3 separate regions of the Homo sapiens genome follow, and regions 2 and 3 are each linked to region 1. Evidence: promoter capture Hi-C in human tissues and cell types (Jung and others, 2019). All regions are on one chromosome and are shown on one strand. Each heading gives the region's core, a stretch centred on a gene start or on the middle of the fragment in contact. The rest is flanking DNA. Distances are from core to core; before and after follow the strand shown. Region 1 holds the start of POU3F3 (POU class 3 homeobox 3). Region 2 overlaps LINC01965 (long intergenic non-protein coding RNA 1965). Region 3 overlaps LINC01965 (long intergenic non-protein coding RNA 1965).

Region 1 (2,991 bases), core at 245-2,744:
TGTCCGAGTTGGGTTAGTTCATTGGAAATCCCCGAGGAGGGCTCAATTTGCCCTTGTTTTCGTTGCCACTTTCTCTTTTTTCTTGGTTCGCTGAGGTTCCTCTGTGCAGCGTTTCCGCTTGGCCGCGTCCCCCCACCCCACCCCACCCCACCCCCGCTTCTCTCGCCTACCGGGTGCACTCCCCCTCCCATCCCCCTTAACTCTTTCAGCTGGGTTAGAGCTGAGAAAGCATTTGTCGCCGCCAGCCCCATCCACCACGCAAATCCATCTGAGACAGAAAGGAAAGAAAAAAAAGCACCACCATGCCTAAGAATAGAGAGCGAGCAAACCCCCCCACCGCTAATCACACACACACACACACACACACACACACACACACACGAGGAAGCGGTGGAGCAGAGAAGGGCGCGGCTAGCCGATCCCGGTTCTTTCGCCCGGCTCCTGCTGCCACAGGGAATTCCTAAAGCCATTGGGGTCGAATACACTTACGATGAATCTATGGGGGAAGGTCGGACTGATTGCTTTTCAAATACATCGCACGGCTCCGCTGACCGGCACCCTCCAAACTCACAAGGGCACGCACGCTACTTGCACGAATCCCAGAGGAGGGAGGAGGGAGGAAGGGAGGGAGAGCGAAGGAGGGAGAGAGGGGGTGGAGGAGCCAGGGAGCGGCGGCAGCGAGCGGTCCGTCTCGCACGCGCGGGCACCGCGCTGGTCCTGGGCTGCAGGTTTCCCAGATGATGGCATCCGAGAACTTAAACAAAGGGGGCTGCCGCCGGCGCGCAACGGCTGCGGAAAGTTGCGGTGGCGGATTTCCAAGGAGCGTGGCCACGACCAGAGCTCTTGGCGATGCGAGCCCCCGCTTCCCACCCCCGCCGATCAGAGAAGGGGGCCGGCTGGTGAAGGGAAGAGGAAACTTTGAAACCACTGGGGACACATCTGTCTATAGGTATTAGCTTGAATGGTACATCCGTGCCGCGCGCTTTACAAATCTCTGGCGGGGCGGGGGTAAGGGGGTGAGCAACCCGACGCGTACTAGGTGGGGTGGGCAGGTTGCTATTTTTCATGTTTCCCCCTTCGTTTTCCTTCTGATTCTCTTCCCCCCTCTCGTCCCTCCCTCCCTTTTATCTCCCCTTTCTTCCCCCCGCCCAGACCTATTGCGAACGCCCAGAGCCGCCGAGGGAACGCCAACGTCTGGGCCGGACACTAAGAGTTAAGATGTGGCGGAGGGGGCGGCGGGGGAGGGGCGGGGAGGGGAAAGTGGTGAGGGGGAGGGAGGCTGGAGGACGACAGATTTCCAGCTTCTACGACGCTCTGCCTAAATTAAAAAGCAACCAATCGGAACGGCCGGAAGGGGGGCCTCGCGTCCTGAGCCAGTCATTCCGAGCCTGCCAATCACCCAGCGGGTAGCCAATCAGCGGGGGCCCTGGTGCTCGACTTCCTTGTATTTGGGAAAGTGTGGTGGTGGGTGCGCGCTCGCGGCGGAGGGTAAACATTCGACAGTCCCCGCTCTGAGAGGGAGGGACAGAGAGCGAACTGTCAGATCGGAGCGAGAGCGGGCGCCCGAGAGAGGGAGAGAGAGAGAGGGAGGGAGAGGAAAAGTGAGAGAGGGAAAGAGAGCGCGAACGAGGGCGCAGAGCGAGCTCCTGCTGCAACTCTGCTCCAGCACGGCCAGCGCCAGCGCCCGCCGTCGGTGCACTCTACGAGCCGTGCAGCGTGCCCACTGGAGTTGTTGTGTATCAAGGATCGATCCCCTATATGCACACACACACCTCCACCTCCACCAATGCACTCTTCTTCCTCCTCCTTCTCCAGACAACTGCTGGGAAAAAAATAAAACACCAACCCCAACCGTCAGCAACAAGGTAACAGAGCGATTCGACATCATTTTTTTTCCTGTTCAATTTTTTCCTTGTTATATTTGTTTCCTAATTTCTGCCCAAAAGGAAAGATGTCGCATCAGACTGTGACTGTTGCGAGGAGAATGAAAAAGGACTCTTGTTTCAGAGGCAACCAAGAGCTCCGGCAATAGCAACTTCAGAGAAATGCACCATCGCAAGAAGTTTTCCTAGGACAGAACAAAACTTGAAACGAGAGGACCAGAGGGGGAGAGCAGGAGCCAGCCTCCCCTCTCCGCACTCGCGAGCAGCCAGCAGCACCACGCCTTCAAGGACGAAAAAGTTTTACTACTCTAAGGGAAAACGAGTGAAATGTGTTCCTGAGGAGGAGAGGAGAGGAGAGGAGAGAGCGGACAAGAGAAGGAGCGGGCCGGTTGCTGGTCATCCGTAATTTGGCTAAGGAAGAAAGGAGCAGCTTCTTTCTTTGTTATCTCCCGTGAAACCTTCACTTAGCAGGTGGACGGAGCCCCGCGACCGGGCAGAGTCCGGGCTCGCCCGAGGACAGGAGGAGGAGCGGGAGCCCGCGCGTCCCGGGAGAGCGCCCCGAGTGCAGGTCCCCGCCCCGCCCGGCGAGCCCCGCTGGAGCGAGCCCAGCGCGCCGGGGCTGGGGGGCGGCCACGACCCCCCCTGAAGGGGGTGGCCACGGAGCGCACCCCGAGAAGCGAGCCCCCCTCCCCAGAGCGCTGCTCCTGCGGCTGCTGCTGCTGCTGGTGACCAAGGCCGGCCGGCGACCCCCGCGCCCTGCCGAGCGGCCTTGCAGCTGCAGCCGGGGGCCGCGGCGGCGGCGGCGGCGGCGGGGGCGGAGGCGGCGGCGGAGGAGGAGGCGGCGAAGGCGGCGGGGCCGGCGGGGGCCCGGGGCGGGGGCGGGGAAGGAGGGGGGGAGGAGGCGGGAGGCGGGGGGCGCGGCGGCGGCGGCGGCGGCGGCGGCCGCGGCTGCTGCTGCGGCGGCGGCGGCGGTGGTGGCGGCGGTGGGGTGGCGGGAGCGGAGCGGCATGGCCACGGCGGCTTCTAACCCCTACCTGCCGGGGAACAGCCTGCTCGCGGCCGGCTCTATTGTGCACTCGGACGCGGCAGGGGCTGGCGGCGGCGGGGG
Region 2 (2,815 bases), core at 213-2,712, 830 kb before region 1:
ATGCAGTGTTCACGGCGATGATACAAGTGCCCCTCCGCGTGCATTAGGAGGACAAATAGCTCTCTGGGTAATTCTAAACATGTGTAAGTTATAACTTTCCCTCCTGAAGAAAGATTTTCTTCCCTCTCTTTATTGTAATCATATGCCTTTCAGTGTGGACTTTCATCTACATTAAGAATAGTTGGCATTAAGGGATGCATTTAAAATAAGGGTTTTTTTTTCTTGTTCTTTTCTTGATTTAACAAATCTGTAGATGTTCTTCGTCAAAAAAAAGGGGGCGGGGATCGAGGATACGGGAATATGGATGGGATCCCGGGCTCCAGGTACTGCCACAGTCTCTTGGTTTTATTTCCTAGTACTTGTTTTTTCTCATATCTTCCAGTGATCAGGGTAGTTACAAAAGGTGAGCCTTCAATGCTATTAATGCACCAGAAGTCATGTTTTACCATAGAATGGAATTAGACATAAGATGTGGTGGATCTGGGCCGGGTGCGGTGGTTCTAGGCGGAGGCGGGCGGATCACGAGGTCAGGAGATCCAGACCATCTTGGCTAACACGGTGAAACCCCGCCTCTACTAAAAAAAAAATACAAAAAAATTAGCAGGGCATGGTGGCGGGCGCCTGTAGTCTCAGCTACTCGGGAGGCTGAAGCAGGAGAATGGCGTGAACCCGGGAGGCTGAGCTTACAGTGAGCCTAGATCGCGCCACTGCACTCCAGCCTGGGCGGCAGACTGAGACTCCGTCTCACAGACAAAAAAAAAAAAAAAAAAGTGGTTGATCTGTCCTTTACCCTATCTAGCTCATGGGGTACAACATGAAATGCCAAAATTTTCGGAGTAGTTTAGTGCCAGACTGGAAACTAAATCTGTGCATGTATTTTTTAAATGGGGAAATGGAAGTCCTGATGATTCACCAGCTTGTTCAAAACAGGCAGAGACTAGAAGGTGGTTTCTAGGCTTAGTGACTTGGGCTACAACAGGCTAGGTCACTATGCCACACTGCTGGGTCATCGACTAGGTGGACAGCATAGTGCAATTTTTCCACCTGGCCGTCCAACTTCGATAAGGGAAACATTTTCTCGAGTGGACAAAGGGTTCCCTTCCATGCTAGATTTAACGTCAGATGTGCCTTGGGAAACATGCTTTAAAAAACACAGACTTTACTTTGTACATTTGGAAGAAAATATTCTATTTGGCCCCTGAAAGGTTTAGGAAAAGATATTTTCAATAAATTCATTGGCAGAGAATCCCACGTAACTCCACAGGATGGAAAAGAGATATTTTAAATAAATCTAGGCTTTCCATTCATTTATTAATGTAAAAATTTATTTATCCACTCATCTAATCCATATTTACAGAGCTGGTAATATAATTTGGATCAGAGCGTGCAATGGGGATGGAGTAATAAACAAAACAGTCAAAAACCCTTGCTCTGGTGAATTCATATTCTAGTAAGAGAAAGACAGACAAGAAATGAAGCAAACAGGGAAATCCTGGAGTTCAAGGGTAGACAGTATTGCAGAGAAAAATAAAGCTAAGAAGCTGGAGAGAGTGTTCCTTGGGAACGGGGGAGGGGATGGGTAATACGTACCCCTGAATTTTACATGAAGACTTGAAGGGGAGGGCTGTTAGATGCCAGCAGATGTAAGAAGCAGATCTCATGTAGAACTCCCCAAAGCTACACGGTAATTTTTATTTTACCAAAGTTTAGGAATTATGAGGTTCAAAGAGGTTTGGCAACTTGTGCACGGTCACAAAGACAAGATACAGATGCATAAGAACTTTGCACACAGGTAGATTTTTGTTAACACAGTATCAGTAATTTCATATTCACCAAGCTCTCATTTATCACCCAATGATATGCTGTGTGTCTGTGTGGCATTGTGCAATAGAGAACCGGAAACTCCCTCTAATATGTTAAGGGAAAAAAAAGAATAAAAGATAATTCAATGCCTTTCTTTAATAGCAAAAATAAAGTACACCAAATTCGCTTTTCCTAATTCCTCTAAGAAATATTATCAAAGGCATTGCTGCAGTTGCCTGTTGCCACTGAGGCACTGAGTAATCAAACACGGAGCACACACCCTTGTTTAGCATCTCAGCATGTGGAAAATCATCCTGCACAGTCCCTCTAAAACAGAAGGTTACAGCCAATATGTCTGTGCAAGGAATGCAATGAACAAAAAGACATCTGTTTGAGATGAGCACAATAAGGAAATAGTTCAAGAGCCACTGTATCATCCTTTGCATTGTGAAGAATCTTCACATAAATTTCCATGCCAGGTAGTTCTCAAAAAGTTCTTCAGTCCCCACAGGCGAATATCAATTTTGTGTGACTTAGTTCGGGGAGCCCTATCCTTCTACATTCCATATGCTGAAAAATCACACTTGCATGAAGACTACATCAGAAAAATAGTGCACTTTGGGATCCTTGGAGCAGCAACAGCCAATTTCTATGCCAACCAATCTTTCCTTATCACTTGAACTTGCCTCTATCACTGTGATCATTTCCTTTCATATGTATATGTCCTCCATTAGATTCTTAAAGGGATTCATTCATTATTTAATCCATGTGGATTTTTTTCTTGCTTGTTTTCTCTTTTCTTTTTTTGAAATAAAACAAACTAAAAGCTAGACTTTGCATTTCAAATCCACACATTGGAGGAAGACGTGGAGGTGCGGGTGTGTGGGTTGGTTCAATTGCACGTGTCGAGGTGCCAGGATCCGTGATGTACTGGGAGAGATGGTCTTCTGCAAGCTGATTATGCATCAGACCCTGTGTTTAGAGAGCAGATGTTCTGGGTTCTCGGTGGGGA
Region 3 (2,700 bases), core at 11-2,510, 880 kb before region 1:
ATAATATTAGCTGCCAATTTTGTTAGATGTTCTTTATTGAGTTGAAGAGGTTCTCTAGCATTTTTTTATTGCTCCAAGTTTTTATCATATATGGATGTTGACTTTTTCAAATGCCTTTTCTCTAACCACTGCATGATTTTTTTCTAATTTGTTTCTTCTATTGAGTTAAAATTTGTCAATTAGGAATCATCAGAGATAACAAGGATATTTCTCATTCCATATCTTTCTGAAGGTTACCAGCCATTTAAAGTTTTATGTGAATTGATTTATTGATTACTTTCTTTCTCATTTGTCATTTTTCTTGGAAGGCTTTATCCCTTATCCATAAAATGGTACAAGAAAACTATGTATCTCATAAAATTATGGTAAGAAATAAGTAGGCAAATAGCTATGAAGCCTTCAGAAGAATGAATATTCCATAGAAACAACTCAGTCAATATTTCTTATGGCTATCATTATGAATGCAAACATTATAATAGTTTTTATTTATTAAGTTTAATGCTGGGCAGATTTTGATAGGTAGTTAATGCTTAGATGACGGTCTATCCTGAGGGGCAGTACACTTGCGGGAAATATAAAGACAGTGACCACCTGAGGTACTGAATAAGTAGTGGAAAGGTTCCTAACACAAATTAAATATTTTTAATGTGTGCCCAGATTTGTCTCTGAAGATGGAGACTCCCCACCTCTCTGTTGCTCCATTTGATCCCTGCTGACATGCTCTTGTACACAAATGACCTACGGTCACAGTGAAGGCTTATTATGTTTTATCTGGTAGACCCCACGTGCTTTTCATTATATTGTCTTTCCATGGAATGAGAATGATCTCAAGGTTCCAAACTCACTTGTGGGACACTTTTTTTTTTGAGACGAATTCTCACTCTGTTGCCCAGGCTGGAGTGCAGTGGCATGATCTCTGCTCACTGCAACCTCCGCCTCCAGGGTTCAAGCAATTCTCATGTCTCAGCCTCCTGAGAAGCTGAAACTATAGACACATGCCACCACACCTGGTTAATTTTTGTATTTTTAGTAGCGATGGGGTTTCACCATATTGGTCAGGCTAGTCTTGAACTCCTGACCTCAAGTGATCCACCCGCCTCCGCCTCCCAAAGTGTTGCAATTACAGGTGTGAGCCACCAGGCCCAGCCTGGAACATACATTTTCCAAAAGTCCCAGACTGAGGCCACGGAAATGAAACTAAGCCCCCACCAAGAACTGGCTCATCAAATGTCAAATGAAACAAATATTACACTTAGGTTGCAACCCTCTCATTCATATAACTTGTTTTCATTTTGGGTTATGTCCTGCTTTTGAATGATTTTTTTTATCATTTGTGGCTTTGGCTGTACTTTATGTGAATTTGACGCATTCAGGGACAGTCTATCAAATTTAAAATACAGAAAGCCAAACAAGGATATAGGAAAGGCCTAAGGAAGAGCTTGAACGGTAAAGATAGATGCAGTTTATTTTTTTAATTCTGAGAAACAAATTATATTTTGGCAGACAATTATTTTTCAAACCATTTCAAATTTTACTAACCATTTTTCTCTCTTATGTGCTCAAACTATGGTGGAACTTTCATTATTTCCACAATTCAGGTTCTTCCACTCGGGAAATGCAACAATTACTGCATTGGGAAAAGGAAGAATGCCTTTCTGAAGAGAAGCTGCCATCTGCAGCTCGGCTAGGATTTGTCTTGGATGCTACTACCATTTGTAGACTTGTAATATCTTTCTAATTGCAGTTGCTGTTGACTTACAGCAAAACAGCAGAATACTTGCTGGCCATGGTCTATAAATGAAAGCAAAAAAAAAAAAAAGACAGGAAAAATCAACTAGTGGTTAGTACAACAGAAACTGAAACATAGTATTATAAACTTTATCTTTTTGTATAAATTTTTAATTGTCTGTATCAATGGAAAACAGGTCTGCCAATCAACTGATCCACTATTTTTCCCCAAATTTAATTTAGTCAGCCATTTGAACTATTCTACCAAAGCTGCTAAAAATCCAAAGGAAGGGATTTAAACGTTCTTACCTTGCTCTAGTCTAGATTTACTAGCCAGCATTTTACTGCAAAAGAGAAAGAGGCCATGTATCTTACCCCAAATATCCAACAAACATTTAGGATTTTGAAACCTTGATTTGTCTATAATATTCATAAATACTAAGTTTCTCTTATTGGCTAAATTAATACGTAAATATTAGTTGAAATGGTTAAGTGCAGATGCAATTCGACTTGCCTGAATCTGAATGTTTGTTACACCACTTAGTCACTGGGTGAGAAAAATGTGTTACATAACCTCTCTGAGCCTTAAATCCTTACATCCATTGTAACTCTTGGACACATAGCATCTGCATTGTAGGACTGTTGCATAATTAAGTGAAATGATTCATGTAGGATGCTCAGAACCATGTCTTCTGCATAGTAGGTCCTCATTAAACATTTTTTAAAAGATGGAGCCAAATTTTGCACCTTAAAGCTTTGTAGTATTCTACATGCCCCACATTTTTTTCCCTTGAGGACACAAAAGAAATCCTGGTTTCTTTGTTTTTCTTCCTGAATTCTTGCTTGGATTTAATTTTCTTTTCAGACCAAATTAGGGTGTGTTTAGTACAGAACCATACAGCATCAGATGGATTTTCGTTGGAGCAACTGAAACTTCATGTGCAGCAGCCTTTGTTCTGAATGTAATAATAA

Evidence for each region. The method cuts DNA at HindIII sites, captures the fragments that hold promoters and counts their contacts. A contact is called where the count stands out against the background at its distance.
Region 2: a fragment that was not itself captured here is called in contact with the fragment with the promoter of POU3F3 in region 1 in 1 of the 25 tissues and cell types used here (dorsolateral prefrontal cortex).
Region 3: a contact is called between a fragment that was not itself captured here and the fragment with the promoter of POU3F3 in region 1, in 2 of the 25 tissues and cell types used here (dorsolateral prefrontal cortex and neural progenitor cells).

The regions. Positions count from the first base shown.
Region 1 is chr2:104,852,621-104,855,611 of GRCh38, forward strand. POU3F3 (POU class 3 homeobox 3) reads left to right here and starts at 1,495. Exons shown (of 1, transcript NM_006236.3): 1 at 1,495-2,991. The coding sequence starts at 2,891. It also overlaps a transcript of PANTR1 not described here. RefSeq lists an enhancer at 1,099-1,688. The HindIII fragment of the contact is 12,067 bases long and covers 1-2,991 here.
Region 2 is chr2:104,021,131-104,023,945 of GRCh38, forward strand. The region is part of intron 1 of LINC01965 (long intergenic non-protein coding RNA 1965); the gene reads left to right. Among named protein-coding and RNA genes, the nearest start is that of LINC01965, 150 kb to the left of the region's middle. The HindIII fragment of the contact is 4,134 bases long and covers 1-2,815 here.
Region 3 is chr2:103,970,221-103,972,920 of GRCh38, forward strand. All of the region lies in intron 1 of LINC01965 (long intergenic non-protein coding RNA 1965), which reads left to right. Among named protein-coding and RNA genes, the nearest start is that of LINC01965, 97 kb to the left of the region's middle. The HindIII fragment of the contact is 6,653 bases long and covers 1-2,700 here.